Linked DNA regions of Homo sapiens: region 1 is linked to region 2. Evidence: promoter capture Hi-C in 16 types of primary human blood cells and fetal thymus (Javierre and others, 2016). All regions are on one chromosome and are shown on one strand. The core of a region is centred on a gene start or on the middle of the fragment in contact, and the rest is flanking DNA. Distances in the headings are between cores, read along the strand shown.

Region 1 (4,859 bases), core at 701-3,200, 1.4 Mb before region 2:
TAGTGGTGGGTAAGCTACTGAGTTTTGCAGTGTTCTGAGAATTTCTAGGCATTATCAGATTAATTCCTAAGAAAGACCTTATGGAATATGCATTGTCATCTCTATTTTATAAATAAAGCAGGAAGACTAAATATGTCCAATGTCACAAAATTAGTCGCAGAACTAGAATTCAATAAGCCCATGCTCTTTCTCTGGTTAAACCAAGGGTCTTTCAATGCCATGAACAATGCTTGCAAACCAAATGTAGTATTTGGTCCCACAAATTACTGTATCTGCTTACTGTCAGATATAATAAACATCTTATCATAACTCTAGATACTACTTTAACCTATTTGGTTTGTGCTTTATTGACAGCATCAACTCTAAAACATAATCTCTTCTTGAAAATATATGAAATTTACCTACAGCCATCTGACCTTCGACAAAGTAGACAAAAATAAGCAATAGGAAAAGGACTCCCTATTCAAAAAATGGTGCAAGGATAGTTGGCTAGCCATATGCAGAAGAATCAAACTGGATACCTTCCTCTCATCATATGCAAAAATTAACTCAAAATTTAAAAGATTTAAATGTAAAACCTCAAGCTATAAGAATCCTAGAAGAAAACCTAGGAAACACCATTCTGAACATTGACCTCAGAAAAGAATTTATGACTAAGTCCTCAAAAGCAATTGCAACAAAAACAAAAATTGGTAGGTGGGACCTAATGACACTAAATAGTTTTTGCACAGCCAGTGAAACTATCAACAGAGTAAACAGATAACCTATGGAATGGGAGAATATATTCCCAAACCATACATTTGACAAAGGTCTAATATCCATAATCTATAAGGAATTTAACAAGCAAAAAAAAAAAAAAAAAAAAAAAAAACCATTTAAAAATGGGTAAAAGACATGAACAGTCATTTCTCAAAAGAAGTCACAAAAGTGGCCTACAAACATGAAAAAAATGCTTATGTCACTAATCATCAGAGAAATGCAAATGAAAACCACAATGAGATACCATCTCACAGCAGTAAGAATGGCTACAATTAAAACGTCAAAACACAACAGGTGCTGGCGAGGCTGCTGAGAAAGGGGAACACTTACACATTGTTGGTGGGAATCCAAATTAATTCAGCCACTGTGGGAAGCAGTTTGGAGATTTCTCAAAAAACTTAAACTAGAACTACCATTTGACCTAGCAATCGCATTACTGGGTTTATATACAAAAGAAAGCAAATCATTCTCCCGAAAAGACACATGCAGTCATATGTTCATTGCAACACAATTCCACAATAGCAAAGGCATGAAATCATCCTAGGTGTCCATAAATGGTGAAATGTATAAAGAAAATGTGGTACATATACACCATGGAATACCACGCAGTTCTAAGAGAATGAATTCATGTCCTTTGCAACAACATAGATGCAGCTGGAGGCTATTATTCTAAGTGAATTAGCACAGGAAAAAAAAAAAAAAAAACAAATACCACATGTTCTCACTTGTAAGTGGGAGCTAAATATTGGGTACTCAGGGACATAAAGATGGTAACAACAGAAATGGGAAATACTAGAAAGGGGAGGGAGTAAGGGAAGAAAAGGTTGAAAAAGTGTTGAGTACTATGCTCACTACCTGGGTGATGGGATCATTTGATCACCCCAAACTTCAGTATCATGCAGCACACCCAGGTAACAAACCTGCACATGCACTCCCTGAATCTAAAGTAAAAGCTGAAAAAGAAGAAAATAGGTGTGAAACAGATTATAATTTCTTATGGCAACAGACAATCTCATTAAACATCAGATCCAATAATTCATTTTTAAAATTCTAATTAGGTATTAATCTACACACTTTAGAAAGAGGCCAGGAAATTAAATTAGTTTTAAAATTTAACAACGAAATAATTATAAATAGTATGTGTACCCTATTTTGCAAACAAAATAAAATTATCATTTTATTCAAATGGTAATACCACTTGTGATTGTCAAATAAATGTTTCTTCTCAGTGACATTACCATTTGAATCAAAATGATTATTCAGTGAATTCGCAATCTTCACTCAGTCTCCATTTTTAGTTTGTTGGATTAAAAAAATGCTTCAAGGCTTTAAATCCTTCCAATGTAGTAGACATCAATGTTTTTTCAGTACAATAAGATTTTTCATTATAATTGTTACTTCACTATTTCACCTGTTTAAAATTAATATCTAATATGAGTATATATATATAAATAATTATTTATGCTAGGACTTAACTACTTCTGAAGTACTTTTTTTCCTACAATAAAATAAAACTGCTTCCCATGGAAGAACTTGTCCTGTGATTCTCTATGAATGACAGAATGAACATACATGTACTAGCATCAGGAAAAACTCAAATTGCCAGTGAATTAACTCGTTGAACTCATTGTTCTGTGTTGCTTTACTCTGACAGACAGTGTATGTTTCTACCTTAAACTATGTCATGTGGTCAGAACAAGACATGAAAATAAAGATCTAGTCTAAGGCCCAGCCTATAAAACATCAGAAAATAAAACAATATGGACGAATGTAATTCAAAAGTTTCTATAAAATTTGTTTCATCTCTGTAATTCTCTTTCATTTTATTTGCTTTTTAGAAATTTCAAGTTAAGGAAATTCAGTTGTACTTGTTTCTGGCATGTGGGCATTCCTCTAAAGATGCGATAAACAGAAAAACAAAGTCTGCCATAACCATTCAAAGCAGGAAAGGGCAACCTCGAAAAACATACTTATAATGATATTGATGCATATTTTAATAGAAAAATAAAACTTATTTTAGGGAAATCTCTGTTCTGTTCTAAAAAATTCCCTCTTTGTGAACCCTTGAATATTTAAAAACATTTAAGAAATTGACCCCTCCATTTATATTTTAATAAGAACCTTATGGCTTATATTTATATCATCTGTTCATTAAATAGGTCATCACTTTTAAGAAGCCAAATATTTCAGTTACTCCTGGCTGCAGAGCAGTCATTTTAAGTCTATAAAAGAAAATACAGGAAAAAAAAAAAGAATTAGTATCTCTGGGTGTCAAGATTAACTTAAAGTTTCTCCCTAGACATTATGTCAACAGATCTTCTTCCCTTCCTTCAATAGAAGCAGTAAGAAGAATTTCATGAGCCTATAAATTTATTACCCCTAGAGATGTAAAAAATGGATTAAAACTCTTCAAATTCCTTCACACCCTTCCCTATTGTTGGAGATACAGACAAAGCAGTGATGACTTATAATGACAATGTGTTTATTAAGAAGAGAGAGAATGGTGGTATAAAAGTTAGATATGGAAAGTGTGGAGCAGGTATAGCTTAAGCTCTATGGGCATAATTATCTTAATTGAGCAATGCACTAGAAAATGATTATCTAATTCACTGGTTCTCAGCCATGGTTACACATTAAAATCACCTGGAATGATTTTTTTTAAGAAAACACCCAAGCCTGAGCCCAAGTCTGAGCACAAGTACTGAGGCTTCTGACTAATTTATTGTCAGTTGAAGCCTGATATGGTTTATCTCTGTGTCCCCACCCAAATGTCATGTTGAATTGTAATTCCCAATGTTGGGGGAGAAACCTGGTTGGAGGTGATGTGATCATGAGGATGGATTTCCCCCTTGGCTGTTCTCATGATAATGAGAGCATTCTCAGGAAATCTATTGTTTTAAAGTGTGTGGCACTTCCCCTTTTGCTCACCCTTTCTTCCTCCTGCTCCACTATGTGAAGATTGTGCCTGCTTCTCATTCACCTTCAGCCATGACTGTAAGTTTGCTGAGGCCTCCCCAGCCATCCCTCCTGTACAGTCTATGGAACTGTGAGTCCATTAAACTTCTTTTCTTTATAAATTACCCAGTCTCAGGTAGTTCTTTATGGCAGTGTGAGAATGGACTAATAGAAAGCCTAATATTCAATGTGTAAATTACCCACTCCCCACACCTGGTGTTTGTAATGGACAGCTAGGAATAAGAATCACTGCTCTTAATTTTGATAAACTGTTCAAGTCATAATATTGCTCCAATTTGTAGGGAAAATTTACAAGGTTTGATTTATCTTCTTGATTGCTACAGAATATTTTTCACTCATTTAGATTGACCACCTATCCGTGTGGCTTACCTAAAAGATGTTGAAAGTATATCAAGCCCAACAGGAAGGAAGAATTAGGAATATAAATGATGGTTTATAGATGAGGCAGTTGATTGTTTCATTTACCTTTGTGAAGAGTGATGAAGGAATGGAGACGTTACTTTAACTTAATAGAGACACATTTTGTTTAATTATAAATTATGTGTCTTATGGAAGAAAGATAAATTAGAAAACCAAAAGAATTTTTGCCAATATTGAAACTCAATTGAAGAGATAGTTATGAAGTAACCTGGGCAAATGATTTAGGACAATAGAATCATTTTTTTGGAAAAATGTTTTTATATCTTCAACTATTATAGGTGTTCTTTGGCATGGTGGAGGAATATACTGATCACAGTGAAGATCCCAGGATGATATTAAGGGTTTCCTGACAAAAACTCTTGTCACAATAGCCCATTTTCTTGGTGATTTATGAGATTATAGAAGTTGTTGCTCCCTAATGTCATTTGACCTTGTACAGGGTCAGGTCATCTCTTTCATTGTCTAATTACTCTTAACTACATTTTTTGTCATTTTTGTTGCAATGTTTTGAACAATCTGAAGATGGAAAAAATAAATTTAGAATTTCAGGGAAGACATCTTTGGCAAGATGGGCATTGTATAAATATATGTAGTGTGTGTGATTTTAGAAAATAAAACTTTTCACCAATGGTGGAGGGAATCTCCCAAAGTACAGTGAGTAGAATTTGAATTTAACATCATACTTTTGTTTTCCTTGATGAAAA
Region 2 (5,206 bases), core at 562-3,061:
TTATTAACATGTTGCATTAGTGTGGTACATTTGTTATAACTGATGAGCCGATATGGAAAGTGACTTTTGAAATGACATGGCGAGGTTGCCCAACGTATCAGTGGCTGGGCTGATGCTGGGAACCACGTCACACCCACACACTCACTTCAACAATCTCCCTGGTAATTTCTCTGGCAGAGATGTTGTGTGCAGATTAATACCATAATGACTGTAATTGTTCTGCTCCAGTATCTGAACACCAGTGGTTGCAGGACCCATTTGACTAAGCACTGGGATTGTTGGTATTTATCCTGACTCCATCTTCACTTTCCTTGCGACCTTGGACACAAGCTTTAATGGCTCAGCGCCTTAAGCGTGTAAACCTGTGAAACAGAACAACATTGCACAATATCATTAACTAATTTACACCTTGACTCTTTCTAAAGGGAAGTGAGGTGGGAGCAATGATATTAATGGTGAAGAACTGGACTGGGATAAGTTACAAACATGCTTGACTTTCCCCATAAGGATTACAGAAGGATGTTTCATTCATTCATTCATGCTGTGAGACAGCCTGGGGATACTCATCTTAAAGCACAGTCCTTCCCCAACAGTCTTAGGAATAAATCCTAGAGTGGGCATCTAGCCCAGTGGTTACGGGGAGCTTGGGTGGGGTGAGTGGAGTAGCATCTTTGGGAAGGGTTCCTTCCCCTGGAAGGTGTGACTTTGTGAGCTGAGTTTTAAAGGTTGAGTAGCAGTTGGCAAATTCCCTGGAGAGAGCATCTCAAATCTTTTGTGCTGAAGAACCAGCCATTTTTGTTCCCAGTCGGCCAGGTACCAATACACTGCGGCGCCAGGTGTGACTCACCACGTGAGTCTGACAACACCCAAACTGGTTTATACTCGGTTCAAAGAGTCCACTGATCATGTGCTTGGATGTCGTGGCATTATTAAATTGCTACAAACGTTTACTCTTAATTTCTCTACTTGTTACAAGCTTTCGTTCAGCACAGGACCAGGTAGCACCTGAGGGGCACCTGGAAAGCAGATTGTTCCAGCCTGCGTTCTAACAAGGTTCCCAGGTGACCCTCGCACAGCATAAAGTTAAAAGAACTGCCCTAGGGGAAACGGGACTCAGTGCCAGGTGGGTTTGATCATTCGTCCATCTCAGTGCCATCTGCCATCTCTGCTTCCTTGAGGTCTAGAAAAGGGTTACATTTTTAAAGGTGATATTGGCCACGTCCCCTTCCAGTTTCAAAACTACATTTCCCCGCTGTTACGCAAACGTCTTAAGCAAACCCGACTGCAGGACAGAAAGTCAACACGGGAATGCAGCTTCCAGAAATTCTGATTAGCCTCCGTCTTCCGCTTTGATCTGGCCCCGCAGCCCCGGCAGCTCCGCTGACCGCGCTTCCTTCCCGAGATTGCTAGTCTACCGGGCTGCATTAATGAGATCCGTGTTGAGCCGGTTCCCGGGTCTGCTAAACATGAAAGGCACAGAAGCCCCCAGTCCCTTCTCCTCCCCTCTAAGTGATTGTTTAGTCTCTCTCTGCAGAGGGAAGAGTTAAATCCCCTCCCCACGCCTACGTGGGAAGACCTGGGGAAACACGCGGCCCCCTCCCGGGTCCGCTAACGAGCCTGCGGCTGCTTCGGGCTTAGAGTGGGCGGGGCCTGGTCGGGAAGGGGGCGGGGCGCTCCGCCCGGGCGGGGCCAGACGGTGTGGTTGGCGGAGGGCCAAGCTCCTGGGGGCGGGGCCGCGAGCGGGAGGGCGGGGCCGGCTGCGGGAGGGCGGGGCCGGCTGCGGGAGGGCGGGGCGAGGTCGCTGGGCTGTAGTCCCGCGGGCGAGAGCTGGCTGAGCCGCGGCGCGGGACTGCTCACCTCCAAGCGCTCGCGCGGGGATCGCGGCTCCTGCTCACTTTGCGGCCCGCTGTCCTCCTGCCCGCCCCGAGGGCCCCCGGCCGGAGCGCAGAGGGAGGGGGCCGCGCTCGCCAGCACCCCGCCGCCTTCCCCCGCCTGGGGGAAGAATGTGCCACCAGCTGTTCTCCGCTTGCGAGCGCTGCGCCCAGTAGTGAGGAACTTGGAGGAAGAAGAGACAAAGGCTGCCGTCGGGACGGGCGAGTTAGGGACTTGGGTTTGGGCGAACAAAAGGTGAGAAGGACAAGAAGGGACCGGGCGATGGCAGCAGGGGAGCCCCGCGGGCGCGCGTCCTCGGGAGTGGCGCCGTGACACGCATGGTTTCCCCGGACCCGCGGCGGCGCTGACTTCCGCGAGTCGGAGCGGCACTCGGCGAGTCCGGGACTGCGCTGGAACAATGGATAACTTCTTCACCGAGGTAAGTGCGCTCCCAGTCCGACCTGGCCTCCGGAGCCCAGGGAGAGAGGCGTCTGCCCACCACGCCGCGCGCCCTGGGTACTTTTTCCTAAGCCCTGGAAGGCGCAACTTTCTGGGAGTCTCCTGAAATCACCCCCCATCCCCCCGCGGAGTCTCTGATGAGTAAGCCCGGGCAGGTTTTGTTTCGTCCTGTCCCGCGCTCGCATTTTGCTCCGGGAGGTAGCGAAGGTGCGTTTCCGTTTGCGTGGGTGGCTGGCTCTCGGGGCGCCCTGGGACACCCGCGCCAGGTGAGGCGGCGCGCGCCGGGGCGCGGGCGGGGCGATCCGCCCGCTCGACTGCCCGGGTGCAGGAAGCCCAATAAAATGTTCAGCGGGGACCTGCCTTTCTCCAAGAAAGGTCTTGTCTGGTATTTCCTTTGCAAAACGTGCGGGCTTCCTGTGCAGGGGTTCAAACACTTCCAGAGGAGACGGCTTAATGAAGTGTGAGAAGGAGAGGCAAGGGTTTAATCGGTTACTTTGCTCGCCGAGAAGTGCTCTTTTAAGGCTTGGGATAACTCCAGACCCTGGGATCAAATGATCATGTATTTGTGTAGAGTGTCCATGCAGATTTTGAATTCGAATGTAAAGAAAATTCGTTTAGGGCAAACAGTGGCTATTTTAATAGATGAAACGGATGCCCTCTTTAGGGTCGTTGAGGGTGGGACACTGAAACTTAACTTGAGAACCCTTTTTCCCCCTTTGGGATCGAGACTTACTGTGGTTTCTTGGCTCCCTTTCCTTTCTTGGTTGTGTTTATTTAATAAATTCTGTTTAAGTTTGAGGTTTGAAGTGGCTCAAAGTAAACTTAGTTGACTTGAGAGAGTCTGATGTGATTTTCGTTGAAAGCCAGGGAATGTTTTCTGAGTGCAGAACCGCTTTGGAGTCTTCCAGCAAATCAGATTGATGAGGGCTTGCCTCTGTGTTAGCCGACTTGGTTTATCTGATTTAATTGGATATAATATTTCAAGTCATTCTGCTTTCTGCATGCTCACTGACTGTATTCTCAGACAGCTATTCATACTGGCCAAAGTGATAAATGCATTCTTGTTTAGTAGTCATATCTAGTTTTTAAAAGTGGTGTTTCAGATGTGATACCCACATTCATTGTGGAAGGAAGACTAGAAAGGAATTATCCATCAATACATATTTTTCCTTTTCTTAAAAAAAGTGAAATATATATAATTGTGAGACGCTCGCATTTTCTAGTCCATAGACTTTTGTTTTCATGCTTGTCGAAAGGCACCAGAACTTTCTGCAAGAGTTGCACGTTGTCCAGTGGTAAAGGACCCTCGGGCTACAGTGAGTTCCGGTGTTTAATTGCTTGCATCTGTAAGAAAACGGAGGCCCTGCCCCTAGGGCAATGATTCTTAACTTTGTTGTTTTTGTGTTCTGGGTCCCTTAGAAAATCTGATGAAAATATAGAAATTTGTATTCAGTTTGCACGGATCTCACTCCTCCTGTAGCCTGTCTGAGCACCACAGGGGTCCGTGGCTCCCCCTTGGGGAGAACTCTGCCCCCTAGTGCAAGTGGGGGGAACATCAGGATAACGCGCTACAGCGTCCTGATCTCCTGTTACCCGGTGAGACTTTGACTTTTCAAAGTACTCTTTTCATCTTGCACTGGATACCTTAGTTCAGTGTAAGGGGCCTGGTTGTTGGATTTTATTTCTGTGATCAATATTATTTTGCAGTTGGCCATTAGTGATCTTCTACTTTCTCCTCTTCATTTTGTAGACAGAATCTTAACCCAAAGATATGAGTAAGTCCCTTGCCCAGCTTTGAAGAGCTTGTTCACGAATCCAGAGCCTTTTTCCTTTGCTGCTGGTGACTTTGGTATTTCTGGGAACTTTTCGCTTATTTTAAGGTTATACTTTTAATCTTGTGATGTATGTGTATTACAATATTAACTTCTAATCAGCCGTGAAAGTTCCACCCTTAAATCTAATCACTTTGAGTGGGAAGGAAGCAGGGCCAGTCAGAGAGGTTAAATAGTGAGGTATTAATTGTAGACATACTCTTAACATAGATCCCAGCTCCCCTTTCTCTCTCTCATGTCTTGTAATGGAGCATCCTTTTGTTAAATTGTCCAGTGAAGAAAATGCTGTAATTAATGTCCTGTTAGAATAGAAACAGCGAGTGTGGAAGTGATATATTCCCCAAGGACAGCTAAATTGTTTGGCCTCCTTATCACTAAGTAGAATTCTGTCTTTGCTAACTTTTCCCATTGTGGCTTAGGGGTAAATGACTTGTTGCTTGTTGGACAACAGTTTAAAGCCAGTGCTAACAATTGGGGAAAAATTACTGAATGAGATGTTGCCTGTTTAGCTTTGTGTATGAATGGCCAAATAATAAGGAAATGGGAGCTGCTTGTGATTCGCAACTGCTATTTCTAGCTAGACCAGGGTTTCTCAAACCTGGTACCATTGCTGAGTAATTCTTTGTTGTTGGAGGCCGTCCTGTGTGTTGTAGGAGGTTAAACGCATCCCTGGACTCTACTCAGTAATTGTTAACCCTATCCCCCAAGTTGTGACAACCCGAAAGGTCTGCAGACATTGCTGAATGACAGGGGAGCAAAATCACTCCCAGTTGAGATCCACTGAGCTAGACCTGTGAAGCAGTTGTTTGGCGGTATTAATTCCTATTTGTGTTGCAGGCACAGCCTTGTCTGCGCTTCCCTGTTTTAAATAGGATTTGGCCGGGTGCGGTGGCTCAAGCCTGTAATCCCAGCACTTTGGGAGGCTGAGGTGGGAGGACTGCTTGAGCCCAGGAGTTCAAGACCAGCCGGGGCAACATGGTGAAACCTCATCTCTACAAAACTTAGCTGAGTGTGGTGGTATGCACCTGTAGTTCCAGCCATTC

Evidence for each region. The method cuts DNA at HindIII sites, captures the fragments that hold promoters and counts their contacts. A CHiCAGO score of 5 or more calls a contact.
Region 1: a fragment that was not itself captured here is called in contact with the fragment with the promoter of MYO10 in region 2 in 3 of 17 cell types (M2 macrophages, monocytes and M0 macrophages); the score reaches 7.6 in M2 macrophages.

Annotation. Positions count from the first base shown.
Region 1 is chr5:18,298,171-18,303,029 of GRCh38, reverse strand. No RefSeq gene overlaps it. Among named protein-coding and RNA genes, the nearest start is that of LINC02100, 450 kb to the left of the region's middle. The HindIII fragment of the contact is 6,425 bases long and covers 1-4,859 here.
Region 2 is chr5:16,932,893-16,938,098 of GRCh38, reverse strand. MYO10 (myosin X) reads left to right here and starts at 1,811. Exons shown (of 41, transcript NM_012334.3): 1 at 1,811-2,311. The coding sequence starts at 2,291. The HindIII fragment of the contact is 4,395 bases long and covers 979-5,206 here.